Linked DNA regions of Homo sapiens: region 2 is linked to region 1. Evidence: promoter capture Hi-C in human tissues and cell types (Jung and others, 2019). All regions are on one chromosome and are shown on one strand. Each heading gives the region's core, a stretch centred on a gene start or on the middle of the fragment in contact. The rest is flanking DNA. Distances are from core to core; before and after follow the strand shown. Region 1 holds the start of SH2D6 (SH2 domain containing 6). Region 2 has its middle 52 kb from the start of SH2D6.

Region 1 (7,304 bases), core at 3,399-5,898:
CGGTGAGTCAGAGGGAGGGGCCCGGCCGGTCTGAGCTGGCGGGGAGCCCCTATGGGAGGCTGGGGCGCCCGAAAGGGTCCTAGAATTGGGCGTGGGAAGGAGGGTATAGGGGAAGCTAAGGACAAGCTTACTGTGCTGTAAACTTTGCGAGAGAATTGCAGTGTTCACTTCCATTCAATCGTTAGGCCCCCGGCCTCAATCACCCTGTGAACAGCTACTGTTCTGTGAGAGCCTACTATGTGCTTGGTGCGTCCTCACATCTACTATCATTATTCCTGCTGGAAACATGAAGTCTTTGGGAGGCTCAGAGAGGGTAACTAACTTGTCCAGAGTGTCACATTGCTAGTTCAGTAGCAGAACTAAGATTTTTTTTTTTTTTTTTGAGACAGGGTCTCACTCTGTCGCGGCACCTGGAGTGCGGTGCTGTGATCACAGCTCACTACAGCCTCAACCTCCCAGGCTCAAGCAATCCTCCAGCCTCAGCCTCCTGAGTAGCTGGGACTGCAGGCATATGCCACCACGCCCAGCTAAACTTTTTTTTTTTTTTGGAGAGACTGTGTCTCACTCTATTGCCCAGGTTGGTCTCAAACTCCTGGGCTCAAGTGATCCTCCTGCTTTGGCCTCCCAAAGTGCTGGCATTATAGGCATGAGCCACCGCACCCAACTGCTGAACCAGGATTCTAACCCAGGCTGATCTGACCTGCAACACCTGACCCTTCTCTTCTTTATTCAGAGGAAAACAGGCCAGCAAGCATCTGCACCAGGAGGCCAGGCCTTCTGGAAATGTGTTGGACAGCGATGGGTCCACACTTCCGCCTTGGCTCCTGAATGTGGCATAGCCAACCCATGAGAGATGTCAGTTGACAAAGAGCATGAGGATCAGGCCATGGCCTTGTGACACAGTGGTAAGATCCTTTTGTGGGAGGCAGCTTCGAAAATCCCAACCAGAATGAGTTTCTCTGAAGTCCATGGGTGGGGCCTGGGGTAAGGAAACAATCTTTCTATCTGGGTGACCTCAGACAAGCACACTCCAGCAAGGAGTCCTCGGAAACCACCTCCCGCTGCCTACTATCTGCCTTCCTTTGACCAACTCTGCTCACTCTGCAGACTCAGCTTAAATATCCCTCCTCTGAAACTCCCTCTGCAGTGCTCCCCAGGTATTCTGGACATCAAGCCACTGGGCCACCTGCATCTACACGCCCATGGGAACACTTCTCAGGCACACCCGATAGCAAAAGTGGATTTGGATCCATGGGCAACCTGGCCTGCTTCCAGACAACTAGGCCTCTCCAAGGTTGTGCCCAGGCATAGTCCTTCCAGAGCATTCAGTTTTTGTTTTGTTTTGCTTAGGTCAAATTTATAGTGAAATGCACAAATCATGTGTACATTTAAATCAGTTTTGACAGATGCAACACCCATGTAACCCACATCCCTACCAAGATATAAAACACTTCTATCACACCAGAAAGTTCCCTCCCCACCATGTGCTTCCTCCACCATAATGTTAGCACCTCTAGCCAGGGACCGTGTCAAGTCATCCTTGCAATCCCAGCACCCTGCATAGCGCCCAGCAGGTAATAGGCACTCAAAAAAATTTTTACTGAATGCATTAACAGATTAGACAGCAAAACCCCCACATTCTAATACTGCCCAGATTCTGTTGCCTCGGGATAATCCCTTAAGACTTCCTAGCCACAGATTCCTCATCTGTGAAACGAGAACAGAAGCCCCAGTCCTCCTACCTTGGAAGGTTGTGAGGATTCAATGAAAGGCTGCTTTTTTTCTTTTTTCTTTTTTTTTAAGAGACAGGGTCTCACTCTGTCACCTAGGCTCTGGAGTGCAGTGGCATGATCATAGCTCCCTGCAGCCTTGAACTCCTGAGCTCAAGTGATCCTCCTTCCTCGGCCTCCCAAAGTGCTGGGATTACAGGAGTGAGCCACTGTGCCCAGCCGGGAGGATCCGCAAAAAGAATGAAGGCCTGGACAATGCAAGATACCATCACCATTATTAATAAACTCCTACTTCTAGGATGAACACCTGGCTGAAGAAACCCAGGAGAGAGAAGCACTGGACACTGGCTTCTGGGCTTAGCTGCTTGGACTCTGGCCAAGGTCTGGGGATGTCCAGGACAATCAGCTTTCTGCTTCTGTGCCCATAAACTCGGGGTATGGACTCATTTCCAGTGCTGAGAAGTTCTGAAATTGCAAAAGATTCTTCCTAGCAAGTTCTCGACCTGTCTTCTAACTACCCTGCCATGTGGCCCTCTCTGGGCCTCAGTTTCCCATCTGTGAATGAAAGCACTAGACTCGAAGGGTCCCTTCTGGCTCCTCTAACTCCAACCGAGAGGCACAGCTCAGGCTGAGCAGTTGCATTTCCTCATCACGGGGGACTGACAGGGATCTTTTGCAATGCTCAATTCTAACATCAAAATTCCCCCAAATATTCCTTTTTTTTTCTTTTTTCGAGACAGAGTCTCACTCTTGTCGCCCAAGCTGGAGTGCAATGGCACAATCTCAGCTCACTGCAACCTTCCCCCCCGCCGGTTCAAGTGATTCTCCTGCCTCAGCCTCCCGAATATCTGGGACTACAGGCGCACGCCACTATGCCAGCTAATTTTTTTGTATTTTTAGTAGAGACAGGGTTTCATCATTTCGGCCAGGCTAGTCTCGAACTCCTGACCTCAGGTGATCTGCCTGCCTCGGCCTCCCAAAGTGTTGGGATTACAGGTGTGAGCCACCTCACCGGCCCCAAATATTTATTTGAAGACATTGATTCAGGATGCTTCTAGCCATTAAATTTGATTTGCAAATGAATTTTTCTGGATCACCTCACAGGCCCTGGGGAATGGCCAGGGGTCTGGGTGGCCATATTTTCCGAATAAAGCTCAAAACCAAAACTTTGGTTTTGCCTTTTCTTAAATCACTGCTAGGTGCTCAGGGGCAACCAGAACAGTGACATGCTGGAATTCCTTGTGACTTCTTGGGAAAGTGGGACTGTCCAGTACAGCATGAGTGGCCTGGGGAGGGCACCAGGTGCCTGGGATGGGGGGACTAGTCCCCCAGAAGACAAGTTTACCCCTGTACAGCCAGCGTCACACTGGGTACTCAACACCATAACAGCTAACACTATTGTGTGCTGCCACTATATGCCAGGTGCTATCCTTGATATGATTTTCTCATTTAATCCTTGCATTTACTCTCTAACATGGATCCTCTTATTATCCTCCTTTGACAGATGAGGAAACAGAGATAAAGAGAGATAAAGTAGGTCAAAATCACTTGTTCTAGGTCCCACTTAGTAAGCGGCAGAGGATAGATGGGAGCCATGTAGTGGGAGTCCATGCCCTCCCCACTATCACCGCATGCTAGTGCCAGTTGTGAGTCCTTTCACATGCAAACAGCTATCTCAGCTCTTTTTTTTTTTTTTTTTTTTTTTGAGACAGAGTCTGGCTCTGTTGCCCAGGCTGGAGTGCAGTGGCACCATCTCGGCTCACTGCAAACTCCGCCTCCTGAGTTCAAGCAATTCTCCTGCCTCAGCCTCCCGAGTAGCTGGGATTACAGGCACGTGCCACCACGCCCGGGTAATTTTTTCTATTTTTAGTAGAGATGGGGTTTCGACATGTTGGCCAGGCTGGTCTTGAACCCCTGACCTCAGGTGATCTGCTTGCCTCAGCCTCCCAAAATGCTAGGATTACAGGCGTGAGCCACTGCGCCCGGCCATACCCTCCCTTTTGAGGTGAGGCTCTTGAAGGCCCAGACCTTTCCTCCAGTGCTTTGAGGTCTGATCCTGATGATAATAACACCTCACTCATAACCTGGACTTCACAGTTTACAAAACACCCCTCCTCCTCACCCCCTCCCAAACTCGGTTTATTTTTGTCGTTAAAGCAGAGTTGTAGGCCAGGGTGGACCATAGGTTTTCTTGGTCACGAGAGACTTCCTCCCTCCCTGGGCTCCCCTCTGTAGTGGTGCCAAATAAAAATCTGATCAGTCAAGCCTGTAAGGTAACTAGCGCTAATGTGCAGAGCCAGTCCTGGGCAGGCCTGTTCATTATTTTGCACACTCTTACACCGAAAGGGCCCAGGACCCTCGCCTGACCCAGCCTTGCCTGCCAGGCCTGGGCTGGGTCTCCCAGCCCAAATTCTCACAAGAGGGCCGACTCCGGCCAGAGCGCGCCCCTCTTTGTGCCTCGGTTTGCCCACCTAGAGGTCAGTCCCGCAGGCGTGGCGGGTACATCTCAGGGTCGGCAGAAAGTGCCACCGGGAGCCCAGCCGGAGTTGAGGGCCTCGCGCCGGGCCCACTGTCCAGATCCAGGGCTCACGAGAAAAACGAGGACGCAGGAGAGCCACACGCCAGGACGCGTGTAAGGCCCCAACCCGGCCCCAGCCTGGGCCCTAGACCCCTAAGAACTACAAATCCCAGCAGGCAGTGGGCCGCGGGGCGGGGTCTCGGAAGCTGCGGCCTGTGGTGCCTTTGCTGAGCCCAGGTCCGGAGGGCCCTCGGGGACGGGAGCACCACAACAGACCCCCGGACACACTTACACACACAGTCTCACAAACACACAGTCACACACGCACACACACACACGCGCGCGCGCGCGCCTTTTGGCCCCTCCCCTACAAACTACAAATCCCGGCAGGCAGCGGGCCGTTGGGCGGGGCCTTGGGTGCTGATCCGGACGCAAAGATTGCGCCAGCCAGGGTGGGATCCCGGTAGCTAGGTGGGGGCTACCCTGCTGGGGAAGAGATGGCCTTCTCTCCTCGCAAACCCAGCTCCCCACCCCTGCACGCGCCCCTCTGCCCTGGAGTCGCTGGTCCGAGCCCTCCTTCTCTGCGAACCTGAGCCCCGCCCTGCCCTCCCTACGAGGTTGGGGCCGTGGGAGATGAAGATGGTGGGTGGGGGGTTGGGCCCACAGCCTGCTAAGCAGGCAGAGTGGCCTCCTGAACCCTTCCTCCATCGCCTAGAGCAAACTCCCATTCCTGGAAGGAGGAGCAGCCCAGACCCTGAGACTGGACTAGGTCTGTTAGGGTCCCTGTGTGGCCGGCAGGACTCGTGGTGAAGCCCGGGGAAGGCCTGGGTCCTCCAGGTCAGGGATGTAGGTCCCAGGGTGTGCAGGCCGCGGTATCTGACCATCGTCGGCGCCCTGCGCCCAGGCATCAATTTTACATGGCAGAGTCAAGGTGAGGTTAGGAGGCTGCCAGGAGGTAATAACCAGGGCGCTCGCATTCAGCATCCTCTCTCTCAAAGCACTCTCCTCACACCTCAGGGTCAAATGTCAGAGCTCTTGTCCTAACTTCCCAGGTTGCCCAAGGAGCTTCTGAGGCGCTACAGAAGGGACTTACCCAGACCCTTCAGTGCAAGCCAGGAACTCAGGGTCCGGCCTGCTCGGTAGGATGAGCTGTGCTGAGGCCCTACTTCATCCACCCTTCTGGGCCAGGGCAGCCTCTTTCCAGAGGCCTCTTCTCAGCTGATTTCTGGCTCCCAAGCGGGAGACTCAGGTTACACCTGTATCGGGAGCAGTGACACCACAGTGGCCAGCAACACATTGGACTTTCTGTCTCCAACTCCATTTTCAGCTTTTACACTTCCTGATCTGGGCATATACTGCTACATACTGGATCATCAAGGAAGGAGGAAAATACCTAGTCAATGAAGGTTTAGCCATGACCTTGTAAGTCAGTGAGATTTCATTCTTGTGTGGTTAGTTCGAGGCGAGCTACTTCCTAGAAATATTTCATTTGATCTCTAAACACCTAGAAACAGCTCCAAAAGGGATATTCAAAGTAGATTGCCCAGATTCTCTTGATAGCAGATGTGGGGTTCATATTAACTGGTCGCGTGGTCTCTAAGCATGCCTATTTCTGCCTGGGAAGTTCTCAAAGGTTTGGTTTTCTGAGTGTTTCTGTTAAAACAATCAGCCTTTTGTTGAGTAGCCCTTTTGCCCCTAGAGAGGAGAGATAGGTACCATAGAAACTTGGAGACAGCTATTGACTCAGTCCCTGGACTCTTTAATAAGAGCCCGTTCTGTTTTGTTTGTTTGTTTGTTTGTTTGTTTCCTGAGACAGAGTCTCGCTCTGTCTCCCAGGCTGGAGTGCAGTGGCGCAATCTCGGTCCACTGCAACCTCTGCCTCCCGGGCTTAAGCGGTTCTCCTGCCTCAGCCTGCCTCAGCCTCAGTAGCTGGGATTATGGGATCACAGGCGCACACTACCACGCCTGGCTAATTTTCGTATTTTTAGTAGAGACGGGGTTTCACCATGTTGGCCAGGCTGGTCTCGAACTCCTGACCTCAGGTGATCAGCCCACCTTGGCCTCCCAAAGTGCCGGGATTACAGGCATGAGCCACCGTGCCCGGACTGAGCCCATTCTCTTATTATTAGAAATCTTATTATCAGAATGTGAGCTTCTGCATTCCAGGGCTTCGCACCAGACCCTCAAGTCAGTAATGACCCTTGGGACATGCAGTGTGCCAAAAGCTGTTGAATGCCCATTCCTGCTCCCTGAAGATCCAACCAGCAATCAGCAGGGTGCAGTTAAAGTCACAGAGCAGTGTTGTTAGGTCATTACAGGGAATGTGGCTAAGGAAGGGCAAAGCCCAGCAAAACTTGTCCTAACTTCCCACGTTCTTTCGCTCTGCGGGCCTTGCCTTCATTTACCTTCCTGATAACTAAAGCCTGGGTCGGTGGTCCTCCAGGCCACGCCCCTTCCACCGTCAGCCTCCGGGCCCAGGAAATGAGCGACAGGCTGCCATGCCCCTCCTCACCACCAGGGGTCGCCCTCTCCCGTGGAACGACTGCTTAGGTCCCCACAGTGGCCCGGGACGGGGTGAGGGGACTGTGGCTTTGGCTCTGTGTACATCATATGGCCTTGGCCAGCATCCATTCTTCTCTGGCCTCGGCTTTTCTGTTGGTAAAAGGGAGGGAGGGTGATCTCAGGGCCCTCCAGGCCCATCAAGGAAGGAGGTGGGGTTGGAGACGTCGGGGAGCCACTGTGTCCAGTCTCTCCTAACGGGGAGGGTAGAAGACCAGCTGGGAACAGGAGAAGCTTGGCTCCCAGGCTCTGTGCTGAAGAAGGAAGCCTAAGCAGGGCCATGTTACATTTGGTGGAGGAGGGAGAGTGTAGGGGAGGAACAGACGCCGGCCGCTCCCGCTAAGGAAGGCAAATTGAGGAAAGGACCCAGTGGGGTGGGGAAGGTCGGCCAGAGGTATCCAGAGAACCAGAGAAAGTGAGTGTGAGGGAGTCCTTGGTGATCCATCTGCGCTGGGGAAAAAGGTTTTCAGCAGATAAACAGCCGGGACCTCGGGGGA
Region 2 (6,952 bases), core at 1,778-4,277, 51 kb after region 1:
ACTTATGATCTAGGAGCAAAGTGAAGGAAGGGGCAAAGTGAATGGAAGTTTCACCATTCAGGGAACAAATTTACTTTTTTCCCTGCCATGGTTAACATTTGGTATTTAGCCTTCCAGACAGATACATACATATTTTTTCCTCACAAAATGAGATTACCATATACATGCTATTTTTTTTTTTTTTTTGAGACAGAGTCTCACTCTGTTGCCCAGCCTGGAGTGCAGTGGCACCATCTCGGCTCACTGCAATCTGCGCCTCCCAGGTTCAAGCAATTCTCATGTCTCAGTCTTCTGAGCAGCTGGGATTGCAGGCACACACCACCACACCCAGCTAATTCTTGTATTTTTAGTAGAGATGGGGTTTTGCCATGTTGGCCAGGCTGGTCTCTACCTCCTGACCTCAAGCGATTCACCTGCCTCAGCTTCCCAAAGTGCTGGGATTACAGGCGTGAGTCAGAGTGCCTGGTCTGACATGCTATTTTGTAATCTGCTTTCTTCATGTCATACATGCCATGCATGTTTTTATGTCATCAAATATACTACTCTCACATTATTTAAGTAGCATTCCATTGGCACAATATATCACATTTTGTTTAATCCGATCCCCTATTCATGGACATTTCTGTTGTTTACAGTAATTTATCATTGGAGTCAAACTGCTGCACAATTTTCATTTTCATTTTAATTTTTTTGAGACAGAGTCTCACTCTGTTGCCCAGACTGGAGTGCAGTGGTGCGACCTTGGTTCACCGCAACCTCTGCCTCCCAGGCTCAAGCCATTCTCCTGCCTCAGCCTCCCAAGTAGCTGGGACCACCGGCATGTGGCACCACGCCCAGCTAATTTTTGTATTTTTAGTAGAGATGGGGTTGTACTGTTGGTCAGGCTGGTCTCGAACTCCTGACCTCAAGTGATCTGCACACCTAGGCCTCCCAAAGTGCTGGAATTACAGGCTTGAGCCACCGTGCCCAGCCAGACCTCCTCTTAATCCCTGTGTTTCTAATTCCACATAATTTACTGGCCCCCTTAAGGTCTGTGTCCCCAAGTCAAGAGCCTTTCGGATTTAGTTCCTTCGAGGCCCGAATCCCCAGTTTCCTGCTCAGGCTGGTGGTCACCCTGGCTTTAAGGAGGGGAGGAAGGGGCCTATGATCTAGCAATTCAATATTCAGCTGTTTCCACCCCCACCTTACACACAGTCTCTGGTGCCTTCATGGAGTCTGCAGACGTGTCAAACCATATCTTCCTGCGCTTTGCTACCTTAGTTGCTTCTCTCAGCTACTGATGTTTCCTGACTCACGTGGGTGACGGTGAGGATAGGCCCTTTCTATTCCTTCACTGGCCTTTCAGTAGGGTTTTGGGTGGGGGAGGATAAAAATACCACCTCGTTTAACTGGAAGTTGCATTAATTATACAAAGGTCTTTCTGATCATTGCTCATCTTTGAAAGAGACCAGTTATTGGTTAAAAATTAATCTAGAGAAAGATGAGGCAAGTGACCTGGAACAGACCACAGTTTTCAGCTGACTTTTTTTTTCAAACAACCTATCACCAAATGTGTTTTCTCCTCTGTCTTGGGCCATATCCCTTCTTTTCAGGATGTAGGAGGGCAGTGTAGCAACAGACTCTAAGATAGACTTTCTAATGATTGCTGTTCCCTCAGGCCCTCTCCTCTGGCTCCCTCTCCAGCAGCAGTTTTCTCAGCTGGGAGGCTGAGACATAGATGGTTAACATGGATCTACACATAACTTCTCTGTTAGTTCCACCTCTCCCACTCCCTGCAGCCTGCAGGGTGGAGCTGACTTCTCTGGAGTCATTCCAGCTGCTTGCCTTTTGTGGTTCTAAACAATGGATCGTTAAGTTGGGCCTTCCAGAGCAGTGCCCTTATCTATACGTGGCAGTTTGGAATTGTGCCGCCACCTAGCCTTTGAAGCTAAAGACAGGTACAGGAATGTTCAGCACTGTCTGTAATAGCAAAAAGCTGAAAACATGCAAATGACTGTCACCAGGAGGATGAGTAAATACGTCACATACTCATATCATCGAACACAATTCTTCAGTGAAAATGAGTGAAACTATCACTGCACATGGTAGTAGTTGGGTGTGTGTGTATGTGTGTGTGTGGGGGGGGCAGAGTCTCACTCTGTCCTCCAGGCTGGAGTGCAGTGACGCAATCTCGGCTCACTGTAACAATCGATTCTCCTGCATCAGCCTCCCGAGTAGCTGCGATAACAAGTGCACGCCACCATGCCCGGCTAATTTTTGTATTTTTGGTAGAGATGGAATTTCACCACATTGGCCAGGCTGGTCTTGAACTCCTGATGTCAAGTGATCTGCCTGCCTCGGCCTCTCAAAGTGCTGGGATTACAGGCAGCGTGCCATCACACCCGGCCGCAGTTGAGTCTTAAAAACACAGTTAAGTGAAAAAAGTTAGTCACAGAAGACTATATACTTGACTGAATGATTTCATTTATATAAAATGCAAAAGTTCCCTGGAACTGAAACATATTGTGTGGGAAAATATACACGAAGAATAACACTCAGGAAAAGAAGGGAATTATTATTAAGTCAAATTCAGGATGGTGGTTATCACAGGAGGGAGAGGAAGAGGTGACTGAGGAGGGGCACAAAGCAGTCTTCAAAGTCACCAGTTAAATTCCATTTTCTTTTATTTTGAGACAGGGTGTTGCTATGTTGCTCAAGCTGGCCTTGAACTCCCAGACTTAAGGGATCCTCCCACCTCAGCCTCCCAAGTAGCTGGAACTACAGGAGCACACCACCAAGCCCGGCTTCTATTTTCTTAAAGCTGGTTAATAGGTACATGTTTTCATTTTTGTTATTAGTGAAACTACATACATGTTAAGTATATTCTTTTGTTGGAACAATATTTCAAACTAATAACTGGAGTGATTACTCTCTTTTTTCCTCATCTTTTAAAAGATGGAGTTGTTTCTCTTTTTCATTTTTGGAGAGTTTTAAGGTGAGGAGAAGAGTAAAAAATAAACTACTTTTTTTTTTTTTGAGACAGTGTTTTGTTCTGTCGCCCAAGCTAGAGTGCAGTGGTGTCATCTCAGCTCACTGCAACCTCTGCTTCTCGGGTTCAAGTGATTCTCGTGCCTCAGCCTCCCAGGTAGCTGGGATTATAGGCTCCTGCCACCACGCCCAGCTGATTTTTGTATTTTTAGTAGAGACGGGGTTTCACCATGTTGGCCAGGCTGGTCTTGAACTCCTGACTTCAAGTGATCTGCCCACCTCAGACTCCCAAAGGGCAGGGATTACAGTTGTGAGCCACTGTGCCCGGCATTTTTTGGTTTGCTTGTTTGTTTTTGAAATGGAGTTTTGCTCTTGTCACCCAGGCTGGAGTGCGGTGGCCATGATCTTGGCTCACTGCAACCTCCACGTCCCGGGTTCAAGCGATTCTCCTATCTCAGACTCCCAAGGAGCTGGGATTACAGGTGCCTGCCACCATGCCCGGCTAATTTTTGTATCGTTAGTAGAGACAGGGTTTTGCCATGTTGGCCAGGCTGGTCTCGAACTCCTGATCTCAGGTGATCCGCCCATCTTGGCCTCCCAAAGTGCTGGAATCACAGGTGTGAGCCACCGTGCCCGGCCAAAAAATACTTTTATCACTCCCTCGCTGCAGCTGTCTATGACTTTCTCCAGGGGGTAAATAATTCACATACACAGCCTGTGAAGGCACTGGCATTATGGACCTTGGGTTTCCAAATAACACTGAAGAAAGCGAGTCCATGGAAAACTGATAATCAAGAAGCTTTATTACTTCCAGGATTGCTTATTTTTAAAACCCCTGAAAGGAAAATGGCTTTAATTCAGAAACTGGCTTGTGGAGTGGTGGTGGGGCAGCGGCGAGGCAGGGTTGATACAACGGCAACTGGAGGAAGAAGTTACTGTGAGGGGAGGCCCACCCGCATCCGGTGCCCCAGTGGACTGGTGCCACCTCAGCTGGCATGACACCTGCTAGAGCTGTGGGTATTTCTCCTATTCAGGAGCTCTGGGTCTGTTGATGCCCGCATATGTGAATTGGGCCCCAGGGCTCTATGCCACGGCCTGGAAGAGGCTTCATGTCAGAACTTGATGGATGGGGGTGGGATGGGGGTGGGAGGGAGGTGGGGCAGGCACTATGCCAGGAAAGGTCAACAGAGTCTTGTTGTGCCTGGGAGGGAATTTGGACTTTATCCTGAGACAAATGAGGAACTGTTAAAGGGTTTCAGCCAGGAAAAGGCAGGATAATTTTTTTTTTTTTCTGATAGAGTCTTGCTCGGTCACCCAGGCTGAAGTGCAGTGGTGCAATCGTAGCTCACTGCAGCCTCTGCCTCCTGGGCTCAAGTGATCCTCCAGCCTCAGCTTCTCGAATAGCTGGGACCACAGGTGCATGCCCCCACGTCTGGTTTATTTTTTATTAATATTGTTTTGTAAAGATAGGGTCTCACTGAGTGCCCAGTCTAGTCTCAAACTCCTGGTCTCAAGCAATCCTCCTGCTTCTACCTCCCACAGTACTGGGATTACAGGTATGAGCCACTGCAGCCTGCCCAGGATAAGATTTGACTGAGAAAATACATAATGAAAAAATGCTGGGCACAGTAAAACTTCAGTGACTCATTTAAAGGAAGCTATACTGTATTCATCCCATCAGCAGCTACATAGATTATGACAATGTCCATATGTAGGCAAAAGATATTTTCATTCTACAGACAATACTTAGGACATGTAAGGATTTAGGAACATTTGGCAAAGACTCTGTGCCCTAACCCCCCACTCCCCTAGGACTCAAGACTTACGGGTTAGGCATTGCTGATCCAGTTAATGGCAATGCTAAATTGTTCTTTTTTTTTTTTTTTTTTTTTGAGATGGAGTTTCGCTCTTGTCATCCACCCAGGCTGGAGTGCAGTGGCGCGATCTTGGCTCACTGCAACCTCCACCTCCCGGGTTCAAGCAATTCTCCTGCCTCAGTCTCCGGAGTAGCTGGGATTACAGATGCCTGCCACCACGCCTAGCTAATTTTTTGTATTTTCACCATGTTGGCCAGGCTGGTCTCGAACTTGTGACCTCATGTGATCCACTCTCCTCAGCCTCCCAGAGTGCTGGAATTACAGGTGTGAGCCAGTACCCCCAGCCTGAACTGCTCTTTTTGACAGCAATAAACAAGTTCAGCTTCATCCTTCCTTAGGTTGGTAAGACCGTGTCTCCAACATCAAGGGAAAGCATGCCTTCCTATTTGTTATAAGGGACCCACAACCAAGTTGCCATTTAAATATATGTGAAAAACAAAAGAGGATCTAATACCCAACATGCATTTATACTATTTAGGACTGTTAGCAAGACTCTATTGCCCATGTGATTTTATAAATAGTATTATGACAACAGTTTTGAATGTGTCTGACTGCACATTGACTCATTTAATCCTCACAACGTCTGCTGGGGTAGGTGCTGTTATTGCAGTTGGCATAAACTACAATTAATTATGTAATTTCTTGTTGAATATTCATGTTCTGTGATCAGTTCCATGAGAGCGGGAAGCTCGTCTTGTTTATCCTTGTATCCCTGGTGCCTACAACAGGGCCTGGTATGTGGCAAGCATTCAAAACGTATTTACTGAATAAATTTCGTATTCCCCTTTACAAGTGAGGACAGAAAGGCTTAGAGATGTTAAATAGCTTACCAACCTTTAGGTCACCAGCTAATCCAAACTCACATCTGTTGAACTTTATCTTCTTACCAGCTCTCAAGTAGTCTAAGGTTTTATAAAGATCACATAGCTTGGTCGAGTTCCTAGCTATTAAGTAGAAAGTTATTGAGAGATTAACAAACACTTTTTTAAAGATTCTTCCTTTGTTTTTAACCATTCTGAAAACATAAAACAGAATTCAGAGGAGAGCAGTAGTGGAATGGTTATGTTTAAACTTGCCATGTTTCATAAAGACATTACATTGAGAAATTCACACCTGGCATTTGAGAACAAAAGCTGGCGTAGAACTTGGAGGAAGTATTATTAGGAATTCACCCAACTAAATCTTCCTAAGCTTATTATCTATAAAGCTCATGTTTTATTAAAATATAGCTCATATGGCTTTATAGCTCTTTCTCCTCAACTGAAATCTTTGGTGGGGTGGGGGGCGGCCTCCAGTTTTCATAGGCCACCTGGTATTGATCATTCTTACCTTACTTGGTTAAAACAGTTGGCCAAGGAAGCCTAGGTCCTGATCCCAGCCCCTTCACCATACCCAGCCCTGCCTCGGTACAAATTTCCTTACAAAATGCCCAATACTCCAAGGCCTCTGGAAGAAGCATGGGAAACTAAGATTACTGTTTTCCATAGGAAAGGTATTGAAGTAACTTTCACAAGCTACCTATGGTAAAAGAGGGAATATAAAGATTTGGAGAAAGGGCTCTAGTGGGAGTAAGTGACAAGTCCTGGCCTATTCCCATTCCATCCCATTTCTAGGCAGGAGTCTAGCCAAGCTGCCAATCGGGCCCCCGCCAGACAAGACAAGAGCAACTGATGTGTGAACATGCAGGTGTTACCCTGCCCAAGAGATGAGCCCAGACCTTGTCTTGTCTCTGGGTTCCATCACCCCGAGTGTGAAGAGAATGGGGAACTCCAAGAAACCAGCCTGAGACTTCATACCTTCTCTCTCACTGCAATGTGGGCAGAGGCCCATGTGCAAAGGTCTCAGGAACTTGAATTCCCTGTAGTTTTAGTAACTAATGTTGGTATAGATTTTGATGGTACAACATTTTTTCACATGCATCTTTCCACTGAGGTTGATATACAAATATTACCGTCCCCAAATTAGAGATGAACAAAGAGATTTCATTACTTGTCTAAAGCTGTATCACTCCCTGCATATCCAGCCTCCTGGTGGACTACTGTTCAGTCATGAGTTTGGGTTTTCTCCCTCTTCAAATCAATCATCTGTGACTTTTACATCACTAGTGC

What was found. The method cuts DNA at HindIII sites, captures the fragments that hold promoters and counts their contacts. A contact is called where the count stands out against the background at its distance.
Region 2: a fragment that was not itself captured here is called in contact with the fragment with the promoter of SH2D6 in region 1 in 1 of the 25 tissues and cell types used here (liver).

The regions. Positions count from the first base shown.
Region 1 is chr2:85,414,066-85,421,369 of GRCh38, forward strand. SH2D6 (SH2 domain containing 6) reads left to right here and starts at 4,649. Exons shown (of 24, transcript NM_001394463.1): 1 at 4,649-4,865; 2 at 4,964-5,179. It overlaps LOC105374841 (a long non-coding RNA gene), which reads left to right. Exons shown (of 3, transcript XR_940316.3): 1 at 1-2; 2 at 734-905; 3 at 2,029-2,896. It also overlaps a transcript of CAPG not described here. RefSeq lists a silencer at 1-61 and enhancers at 3,990-4,099, 4,096-4,631, 4,110-4,269, 6,498-6,647. The HindIII fragment of the contact is 13,378 bases long and covers 1-7,304 here.
Region 2 is chr2:85,467,041-85,473,992 of GRCh38, forward strand. No RefSeq gene overlaps it. Among named protein-coding and RNA genes, the nearest start is that of SH2D6, 52 kb to the left of the region's middle. The HindIII fragment of the contact is 3,746 bases long and covers 1,155-4,900 here.